Linked DNA regions of Homo sapiens: all the other regions are linked to region 1. The links are contacts of gene promoters, found by promoter capture Hi-C in human tissues and cell types (Jung and others, 2019). All regions are on one chromosome and are shown on one strand. Each heading gives the region's core, a stretch centred on a gene start or on the middle of the fragment in contact. The rest is flanking DNA. Distances are from core to core; before and after follow the strand shown. Region 1 holds the start of ANGPT4 (angiopoietin 4). Region 2 overlaps RSPO4 (R-spondin 4). Region 3 has its middle 15 kb from the start of FAM110A.

Region 1 (3,338 bases), core at 409-2,908:
TCGCCCAGACTGTCTCCTGGGTCCCTCTCCCTTTCCTTGGTAGCTCTCACTTAGGGACTCTGAAGAGTCCCATCTCAGACCCCCCAGGATGTCTCCTGTACCCTCATGCCCCGCCAGGGCCAAGCCTGCTTTGCACACCTCTGTAGTCAGTGCTTCTCCGAGGGTACACAATAGGTGCTCACACTGCTGAAAGACGAAAGCATGACAGGGCATTCTACAGCAGCCCTGGTCTTGGGCCAAAACCACAGTGGCATCCTCAGCTCCTTGCTTCCTCCCACTCCGCATCCAATTCACCAGCAGAGCTGATGGGCTCTACCTCCAGAACCCACCAGAATCTTACTGGCCACACCCCCTCCTAGCCCCGTTCTGCTCCAGGCCTCCGGTACCTTGCACCTGATGGCTGCAGCGGCCACCTCTTTGGGCTTCTTCCTTCCACCCTGCCTCCTACAGTCTATGCTGTTGAAATCGAATCACGGGTGTCTGTCTCTGCTCACAACCTTGCAGTGGCTCCCATGACACTCAGAACAAAAGCTGAAGTCCTTCCAGTGGCCCCCCCCCCAGCTGCATGGCCTGCCCTGCTGTCACCTCTCAGACCTCCCCGCACCCTTGCTCCCTCTCCTCTGCTCCAGCTACACAGGCCTTCGCCCCATGGTTCTCCAGGCACACACCGCTGCGGATGCATTCCCTCCTCACGGTCAAAATACATGCAGCTCCCTTTGCAGAACGTTCCCTCAAATACCTGCCTGGCCCACTCTATCATTTCCCTTGTTCTCTGGGTTCAAATGTCACCTCCTCTGAGAAGTACTCTCTAATGATCTGACCTCAAGCAGCCACCCAGGGCCGCCACTTGCCCTCTTTCTTCTTCATTTTGCTTCACCATCTGACATAGTAGATTATCTCTTACTGCCTCTTTCCCCTACTAGTCCAGAGGGAGACATACTATACTGTCGTATCCCCAGCACCCAGGAAGGCTTGGTCCGTTCAGCCCTTGGTCAGGGCTGAATGGATTTCTGTTGGATGAATGAAGGGACGGCAGTTAAAGAGCCAGGTTGCCAGCTGACATTGCCCAATCTTGCTGTGTGGCCTCAGACCCACCCCTGCCCCTCTTTGTGCAGCTCAGAGACAGCCCTCTGTGCTCAGGGAAGGCCTCTTGGATGGACACTCCACCTGCTGATTGTGACAGACCCCAAAGCCGCCCTCTGCCCCCTGCAAACCTCCCATGCCCCGTACCTTCTTCAGCCACTGCGTGTTGTTCTGCAGTGCCTGCTCCAGCTGTTTCACCTGCTGGGTGGGCAACTTCCCCAGGTGCAGTGGGTTGGCCAGTGATTCTCTCTGGAGGGTGTTGGAGTCCCTGGAGACCTCAGGCCCCGGAGGGCAGGGCTCAGACTTGGGCAGCAAGAAGGTGTAGCTACAGTGGCCGTGCTGGACTACAAGTGTCTCGCAGCCCCTATCCGCCTCCTGCCTTGTCTGTTGAGCCACAGACATGGTGGCAACCACAAGGAGGAGGCTGCCCTGCAGCATGGCTAGCTGGGAGAGCATCTGAAGATGTGTCAATGGCGAGGGATGTCTGCTCAGAGCCCTAGGGGCTGTGCCTGGGATGTCCTGCTGCAGCCAACAGTGGCCAGGCTTGCCTGCAGCTGCAGCTACAAACCTCTGTCTGGCCGAGCTCTGTCCAGGCAGCTATTTATACTTGCTCTGAATACCACGGCTGCTCTGCTTGCTTCCTCTCACCGCCTCCCTCCGGCCCCACCCGACACCCTCTCACCTCTATTCTTCACTCCTTCCCTTCCTCCTTCCTCAGTCTTGGTGGCACGTCGCCCTTACCCTAAGCGTGCACCAACCTTGCTCTGTCTGCCTCACCTCTGAGCCCTCTGATTATCCAGTGAGGCCTGGCTTCCCTGCTGGAGGGGAGGGAAGAAAACAGCACACAGACACGCGCACACACTCATGCACACACTCACGAGCACACACTCACACGCACGCTGACACGCACACACATTCATGTACACACAAACGCCAAGCTCCAATGCTGCCCGCTTTGGAAAACCAAATGCAACTTAACTCTCCCTTCCTGTCTCTGTCTTGGTCTCCCTCTTTCCCTCCACCCCCATCCCCTGCCCCCCAAGTCTAAGATCTCAAGTTTCAGTCCCGCTGCCATCCCCTTCTCTCCCCGCTGCACCTTCCTCCCTCTGGTTCCATGTTAGCGCTTGGAGTACAAGTGACCCCCGGAGAGAGCAGAGGGAGGGGAGGAGGCAGAGGGGTGAGGCTGGGGAGGGCCCAGCGAATCCACTTTGCCTCTGGAGACACAGAAAATCCTTCCAAGGTGGGGCAAGTGAGCAACCCAGCTGGGAGTTGCTTCCTGTCCTCTCTTCTCCCTCAGGGCCAGGGGAAAGTGGTATGCCCCAGGATGGCCCTGGCTTGGTTGCTTGTAACAGTAATGAGAAGTTGTCATGTCCTGGGGCAGATTGTCCTGGGGCTGCTGGAGTGGGGATGTGGAGAGGAGGCAGTGGGGAGAGGAGGTTGGAGTGCCAGGAGGCTAACCCTAGATCTCGCTCCCCGACAGCTGGCCACGAGACCTAGGGTGGGCAGCTGTGCCTCTCTGGGCCTCCACACCCTGATCTGTAAACTGGGTAAACCTTATCTCTTGCAGGAGGAATGCGTGTGAGTCCTCAGCATGGGGATGGAGAAGTTTTCAGCTTCTGGGTTCAAATCCTGGCTCTACCATCTACCAGCTGTATGACTTTGAGTAAGTCACTTAACCTCTCTGTGCCTTCATTTCCTCCTGAATGAGGAAAATAATACCACCTACTTCACATGGCATGAAAATTAGGTGAGTTAGAGCAAGGTTGGCACAGAGCGAGCACTAAATAAATATTTTCCGTTGTCAATGTTATAGTTGTCATTGCACCTCCCCTCCCACGACCCACTGGAGCATAAACTCCTCTAGGGCAGGGATTTGTCCCTGGGGGACATGGTCTCCAGGCAGAAGGTGCCCAGGAGTTGGTGGGGCCTTTCCTGCATGGGCTGCCTTTATGTTCTGCCAGCTGTTTGGGCTTTTCCTCTCTCCCTGCTTGTTTCCTCAGAGTAGGGGCCAGTCTGGCTGTTTAGTATTTTCCTTTTTGTTCTCTCAAATCCCGATAGAGTTTTGAATTGGGGCAGGCTGCTTCTGGGCAGCTGTGAACTGTGGTCTCATCTGGGGACTGAGAACATTATACCAGGTGTGGGGCTTTTGCAGGCAAAGGAAAAGCAGCTGGTTATCAGCCTCCAGCCTCCCCTGAGCCTTCCCACATGCTCTGAGCTCTGCGTGCCCCGCTTGGCCCCAGTTGCCTCAGCTGTAA
Region 2 (3,338 bases), core at 219-2,718, 69 kb after region 1:
ACACTCCACCCTGGGCGACAGAGTGAGACTCTGTCTCAGAAAAAAAGAAAGCTGAGAAATATAATCAGCTCCCAGTGCTGAGAAGACTTGGGGCCCCACTGCCAGTGAGCATCAGGAAAGGGGGCCAGGTCTAAAAGTCAGCGCTGACTGAGGCAGGTCCTTGGTCAGTGTGTCCCTGCCAGTGTTCCTGGGAAAGCCCCAGTTCTTCTCAGCCAGCACCCTGGGTACCTGGAGCTTCCAAGGGGTGGCAGAGAGTTGGGAATGCAGTTTGGGCCTCCAGCCCAATGCTCCATGCTCCTTGCCCAGTAATCACACCTGGCACAAAGTGAGCATCTTCAAGGACCCTATTCTGGGTCTGGTCTCTCCCCATGGGCCTTCTTCAACACTCAAATCCTAGTAGTACAAGGGAGAGAGCCCCAGATGTGGACTCTTGTCCAGTTCTGTGTGTCCTCAGGCAAGTGTCTCCCTGTCTCTGGGCTTCAGTTTCTCCATCTGTCAAATGGATGGTTAAACTCAGTGTTTCTAAAGGCCCACTGTTCACCCATCCATCCATCCATCCACCCACCCACCTACCCATCTGCCCACCCATCTATCCATCCCCATCCATCCATCCATCCATCCCCATCCATCCATCCATCCATCCATCCATCCACCCACCCACCCATCTATCCATCCACTCACCCACCCATCTATCCATCCATCCATCCACCCATCCATCCATCCACCAACCCATCTATCCATCCAATCACCCACCCATCTATCCATCCACCAACCCATCTATCCATCCACTCACCCACCCATCTATCCATCCATCCATCCACCCACCCACTCATCTATCCATCCATCCATCCATCCATCCACCCACCCACCTACCCATCTGCCCACCCATCTATCCATCCCCATCCATCCATCCATCCATCCACCCACCCATATATCCATCCACTCACCCACCCATCTATCCATCCATCCACCCACCCACTCATCTATCCATCCATCCATCCATCTATCCACCCACCCACCCATCATCCACCCAACCATCTATCCGTCCATCCATCCATTCAGCAGATATTTCTTGAATATCATCTATGTGCCAGGATCCTTTATTTATTAAAGTTAAAAGACAAATCACAGACCTGTAGAAACATTTTAGAAAGACATACAAAATCATACTGGATTGGAAATGTAAATTTCCCCAGGACTTTTGTTCACCAGTGACTCTCCAATGCCATGCATGGGGCCACATGTCTACTAGGTGCTCTGTAAAATGTTTATTGGATGTAAGAATGAATAGGACATATTTTGCTGTTCTAAAGAGAGCTGCCTCCGAGTCTGAGATTGGAGTCAGACATCCTCTCTAGGACTTATTGAGAGGGGGCCAACTATCTTTGTCACCCCCATCCCTGACCTGCCCCACTGCCTCCCCAGCCCATATAAGCCAGTTTCTAAAGAGGATCTAAGGAGGATTGGCCAGCAGTGACTGGGGCAGGGTAGGGCACGGCATGCCCCCAACTCCCAAGCCCAGGTGGGCTCATGGTTTGGAGGGGAGAAGCTATGAACCAGAGGGAAACAGGCATTCCATCCCTTGATTGAACTCACTCTTGTTGATCTGCCCTGTGTCCATTGGGAGTGAGTGGAGAATGAATGAGAAATGCAAAAGGGGTGGGGTCTGGCAGAGGCAGCCTGCATTGCCACCATTTGACCAATTTCCTGTCAATTTCCTATATTTGGTCAAGTGGACATTGAAGGAGGCTCTTGAGCTTAATCTAAGCCATGGTTTTCCAGCCCAAAGGGGCATGAGGCTGTTGAAGTGGGGATGGGGTAGTGAGGAAGCTAGGGTGATCTGAAGAGGTCAAGCTCGTGCTCCTTGCTCAGTAATCACACCTGTGTACCAATTAGGCACCTGCCACACGTGGGAGAAAGGGGAGGGCATGGATGGAGGCAGAGGAACATTTAGTCCCAGTCCCTCCCTGCTGCTCACTGGTGATGGCCCCAGAGTTTTCTAACACCGGGAATTGTGGAGGCCACAGCAGCATCAGGGTAGTGACAGCTGTCTCTATCCCCATTCCTTCTTCTGCTCCCCAACATACAGGGGAGAAATCAACCCAGAGGGAGGAGAGAAGAGAATGAGACAGCATGACATATCTCCCTACAGGGCAAATCAGTGGAGTCAGAAGCTGAGTCAGGCAGTGATGGGGAAGCAGTGATGGGAAAGGAGAGCTTCAAATCAGACCTGTATTTTAAAAATTCAGCACTGGACTAGGCTTTTTAATAGCTGAAAGTTACCAGAAAGCTTTGAGATCTGCCCAAAGTTATTAAGGATTGGAGTTTAAAAATACGACTGTGCATTGGGGGTGGGGGGTGGGGGGTGCATGGAAAGCATGCCATGTTTGTAACCCTCTGTTACAACTTCAGTATCATCATTAAGCCAGTTACACACAAAGTAAGCCAAGAATATCCTTAATACACAACGAGCTCCTATAAATCAATAAGAAAAAGGGGAATGATCCAAGTGTGTGGAGGGAGAATGGGCAAAGACATTACAAGGAATTTAAAAAAGAAAGACAAATAGGACAATAACCATACGCAAAGCTGTTCTACTTCCCTAAGAATTTTCAAATTGAAGATGAGAACAAGAATGAAATACCACCATGACCTACAAGATACGGAAACTGTAAAAGACTCCGGCACCCTCTTTTGAGAAGGCAATTAGGCAGAGTCTATTATCTGTAGCCTGAGGTAGTAACAGCATTTTACAGGAAGTGTCCTGAGTTGAGAGAGGGGTAGGCACTTGTTAGAAGCCACACAGTGAGTCATGGGAGGGGAGGAGCTAGAACTCAGACCTCTGGATGGGCACCTTTGATTCTTTATCTCCAGCCAGCTGGTCCTCTCTGTCTGGGCTAGTGCACAGCCTGGCCCCTGGCCCCTGTCTGGGTAGCCCAGGTCTGCTACATCCATTGCTGCACCCTGCTCTGGGCCTGAGGATGGTTGGGGCACTGCTATTCCAAATGACACATCTCTTATGATTACCCTGTCCTTCCTAGACAGGAAGCTTTCAATTAGTCCTGCTGGGCAGCAGCCTTAGAGGGTAGAGGTAGGACTCCAAGGTTTGGGATGAGACAAACCTGTTCTCAAATCCCAGCCCCACCTTTACTCCCTGGGACAGTTACTTAACCTCAGTTTGCTCATTTGTAAAAGGAACACTGTCCAGGTGCGGTGGCTCACACCTGTAATCCCAGCACTTTGGGAGGCTGAGGTGGGAGGATTACTTAAGGCCAGGAATTTGAGACCAGCCTGGGCAACATAGTGAGACCCTTATCTCTATGAAAATAAAAAAAAAA
Region 3 (3,338 bases), core at 438-2,937, 67 kb before region 1:
GGTGTCAGGAGAGAGAATCCAGGCAGGATCTGCAGACGTGGTGCCCTTTGAGGTGTCAAAGACTAGATTTCCTAGGCAACCCTGCTAGAATTCAGGGCTAGTCATTGCCCCTTGCTGTGACCTGGCAGCCTCCGAGTAACCCAAGAAGGTGGATGGGCTGGCTGCATTTTACATGTGAAGAAATTGAGGTTCAGGTCACAGGACTGGTGGGTGACACCTTGTTTCTGAAGGAGGGTACAGTGCTTGAATCCTCAAGGTAGCCTTTTGAGGACCAGATATATTGTCAGAGCAGGAGGTTGAGCTCAGGGAAGGATAGCGACTTGTATACTGTCACATAGCAGGTCTGCAGGACAGCCTGGGGTCACACTCTTGCCTGCCAGACACATCGCAGTCTGGATTCCTGGTTCTCCCAGCATGTACCCCACCACTCTTCCTCATCTTGGCAGCCTTTTCTTCTGGTCACTTTATTACTGAGCATCTACTGGGTGCCCAGCAGTGGATAAGACAGACATGGCCCCTGTCCTAGTCTGGAGAAGAGAATGGGCAACTAAACATTCAGCACATAAATAATCATAGAATGTAAAGCAGGTATACTTAGGGACTTCTGCCCTAAAACCAGAGCTGTTCCCAGGAGCTGGACCAGGGGATAGCTGAAAAGAGAACGCCTTTCCATAAATCCACTGGGAGGGTCTGTTGGGGAGAGAGCAGGGAGGGATTCTTGGAAGTGGGGAAGGTGCCAGATTGAGTCTTCTCCAATGGTTATGGCTTGGTCTTGGGAGGGCTCCCCCTGTTCCAGGATTCTGGAGCCTCCCGCCTTCCCTGCAGGCCTCTGTGGAGGGAGCAGGGCGGGGGGCTTTTGCACTCCTCCCTCCCCCAACCCTGCAGCCTTGGGGATCTGTGGAAACAGCCCCTCTATTGTTCTGCCTCCAGTTGGAGTGTGAGCCCTCGGAGGGCCTGCAGCTGCTGCCCTGTCTCCTGGGGCTGCCCAGCCCTCCGAAGCAGCTCCCCCAGGCCAGCCTGGCCCCAGCTGCCTAGCCCCTAATTAGGCAGAGATGGGATCTGCTCTCTGATCCATTTCCCACCAGCTAATTATATACACGTGGATTTGGGAACCAGGCAACCTGGCTGCTCACTTCTATCATGAAGGTGGATGGGCCCTGGGAAAGGCAGCCCCCCCCCCACAGACCTCAGTTTACCCTTTTGGCAGAGGATGGAGTGTAGCTGCAGAGGCCTGTTCCCTGTCCTTGGTTAAATAGTTCTGTTCCTGCTACTGAAACATTTAAGGAGACCCCCCACCCCCATCTTACCTGATATCCTGTGTACAGGGGACCAGGAAAGGGTTGAGGAATTTGGCTATAGGTCCTTGACTCTAGGACCCCAGGGTAGGGTCATAGGATATAGATGAGAGCATGGCTGCAGCTGGCTGCCAATTAGATGTGCATATAGGAGGGCTTACAGTTGTGCTGGTCCATCTGGGTGGCCTGAACACCCGGCCGGGTGCGGTGGCTCACGTCTGTAATCCCAGCACTTTGGGAGGCCAAGGCAGGCGGATCACTTGAAACCAGGAGTTTGAGACCAGCCTGGACAACGTGGTGAAATCCCGTCTCTACTAAAAATACAAAAATTAGCTAGGCATAGTGGCGGACACCTATAATCCCAGCTACTTGGGAGGCTGAGGCATGAGATTCGCTTGAACCCTGGAGGTGGAGGTTGCAGTGAGCCAATATCATAGCACTGCCCTCCAGCCTGGGTGACAAAGAAAGACTCCCTCTCAAAAAAAAAAAAAAAGGAGTGAACACCCCATCCAGGTTTTTAAAAAGGTAATATTGGTTGATGGGTACAGCAAACCACCGTGGCACATACATATCTATGTAACAAACCTGCACATTCTGCACATGTATCTCAGAACTTAAAGTAGAATAAAAATAAAATAAAAGGTAATATTATTTTTCAGATAATTCACTCATATATTTCTTCCAACATTTTATTAAGAAAAATTTCAAACATAGAGTTGAAAGAATTAGACAGTGAACATTCATATACCCACCTACTAATGCACACTTGTTAATATTTCACTATATTTGCTCTATCAGGAATCTACCCATCTCTCCATCCATTAATACAACTTATTTTTTTAATACAACTTATTTTTTAATAAAGCTTTTCAAATTAAGTTGCATATATCAGTACACTTCCCTTAAAGTCACTTTAGTGTGCATGCCATTAGCTAGAATTCAATATTTGTTTGTCTTGTTCCTCTCTAGGTAACATTTACATGGAATGAAATGCACAGATCTTAAAGGTGCCATTTGCTGAATTTAGACAAATGCATACTGTACCCCAAACCCCTATCAGGGTATCAAGCATTATCACCTCAGAAAGTTTCCTTGCATCGCTCTCCTGCCGATTGCTGCCTGCCCACCATGGACATATTTTTATATCCATATATATCAGTACTAACAAGCAGCATCCCTTGTCCTTTCCTCTACATCAGCCTCGCTCCCCAAAAGCAACCACTTACAACTTCTTAAACTATTTCTTCTGGTACTTTCCTCCATATTTTTAAATAACTTGCTTTTCCTGCTGTTTTCTTGATCAATTTTAGGCATACACACACACACACACACACACACACACACACACACACACATATATATTTATTTTTTTTTTGAGACAGAATCTTGCTCTGTTGCCCCGGCTGGAGTGCAGTGGTGTGATCTTGGCTCACTGTAACCCCTGCCTCCCAGGTTCAAGCGATTCTCCTGCCTCAGCCACCTAAGTAGCTGGGACTACAGGTGTGTGCCACCACGCCTGGCTAATTTTTGTATTTTTTGTAGAGATGGGGTTTCACCATGTTGACCAGGCTGGTCTTGAATTCCTGACCTCAAGTGATCCACCCACCTTGGCTTCCCACAGTGCTGGGATTACAGGCGTGAGCCAGTGTGTCTGACCAATTTTAGGCACATATTGACTGACTTTCTGGTCTGATGTTTTCATAGTGTGGCCTCCACTGCCTGGCTGCCTGGCTTTGGATCCCAGCCCTTCCTCTTTCTGGCTGTATGACCTTGGGCAGTAACTTAACCTCCTTGGGCCTCAGTTTTCTCATTTGTAAAATGAGGGTGATAATAATAGTGCTGAGGTTATTGGATTGTTATACGGATTCAAGATGTAAAAGGCTGAGAATAATGAACATCACCCAGTGAGTAGTCAAACTTTTTCTTCTCATAATCATTATTATCAAGAAAGATTTAGCTTTTGGTTCCCCCCTTTCAATTGGCATTTATCACAATTTTTTGTGAAGTGGATTTTAGTGTTATTTATATTATGACTATGTAAAT

What was found. Contacts are between HindIII fragments. The study calls those that stand out against the background at their distance.
Region 2: a fragment that was not itself captured here is called in contact with the fragment with the promoter of ANGPT4 in region 1 in 4 of the 25 tissues and cell types used here (dorsolateral prefrontal cortex, mesenchymal stem cells, psoas muscle and 1 more).
Region 3: a fragment that was not itself captured here is called in contact with the fragment with the promoter of ANGPT4 in region 1 in 3 of the 25 tissues and cell types used here (IMR-90 fibroblasts, mesendoderm cells and thymus).

Annotation. Positions count from the first base shown.
Region 1 is chr20:914,676-918,013 of GRCh38, forward strand. It overlaps ANGPT4 (angiopoietin 4), which reads right to left and starts at 1,659. Exons shown (of 9, transcript NM_015985.4): 1 at 1,231-1,659. The coding sequence starts at 1,539. LOC105372492 (a long non-coding RNA gene) reads left to right here. Exons shown (of 3, transcript XR_937185.3): 2 at 2,651-2,746. The HindIII fragment of the contact is 12,950 bases long and covers 1-3,338 here.
Region 2 is chr20:984,302-987,639 of GRCh38, forward strand. The region is part of intron 1 of RSPO4 (R-spondin 4); the gene reads right to left. Among named protein-coding and RNA genes, the nearest start is that of RSPO4, 16 kb to the right of the region's middle. The HindIII fragment of the contact is 4,609 bases long and covers 1-3,338 here.
Region 3 is chr20:847,486-850,823 of GRCh38, forward strand. No RefSeq gene overlaps it. Among named protein-coding and RNA genes, the nearest start is that of FAM110A, 15 kb to the left of the region's middle. The HindIII fragment of the contact is 7,153 bases long and covers 1-3,338 here.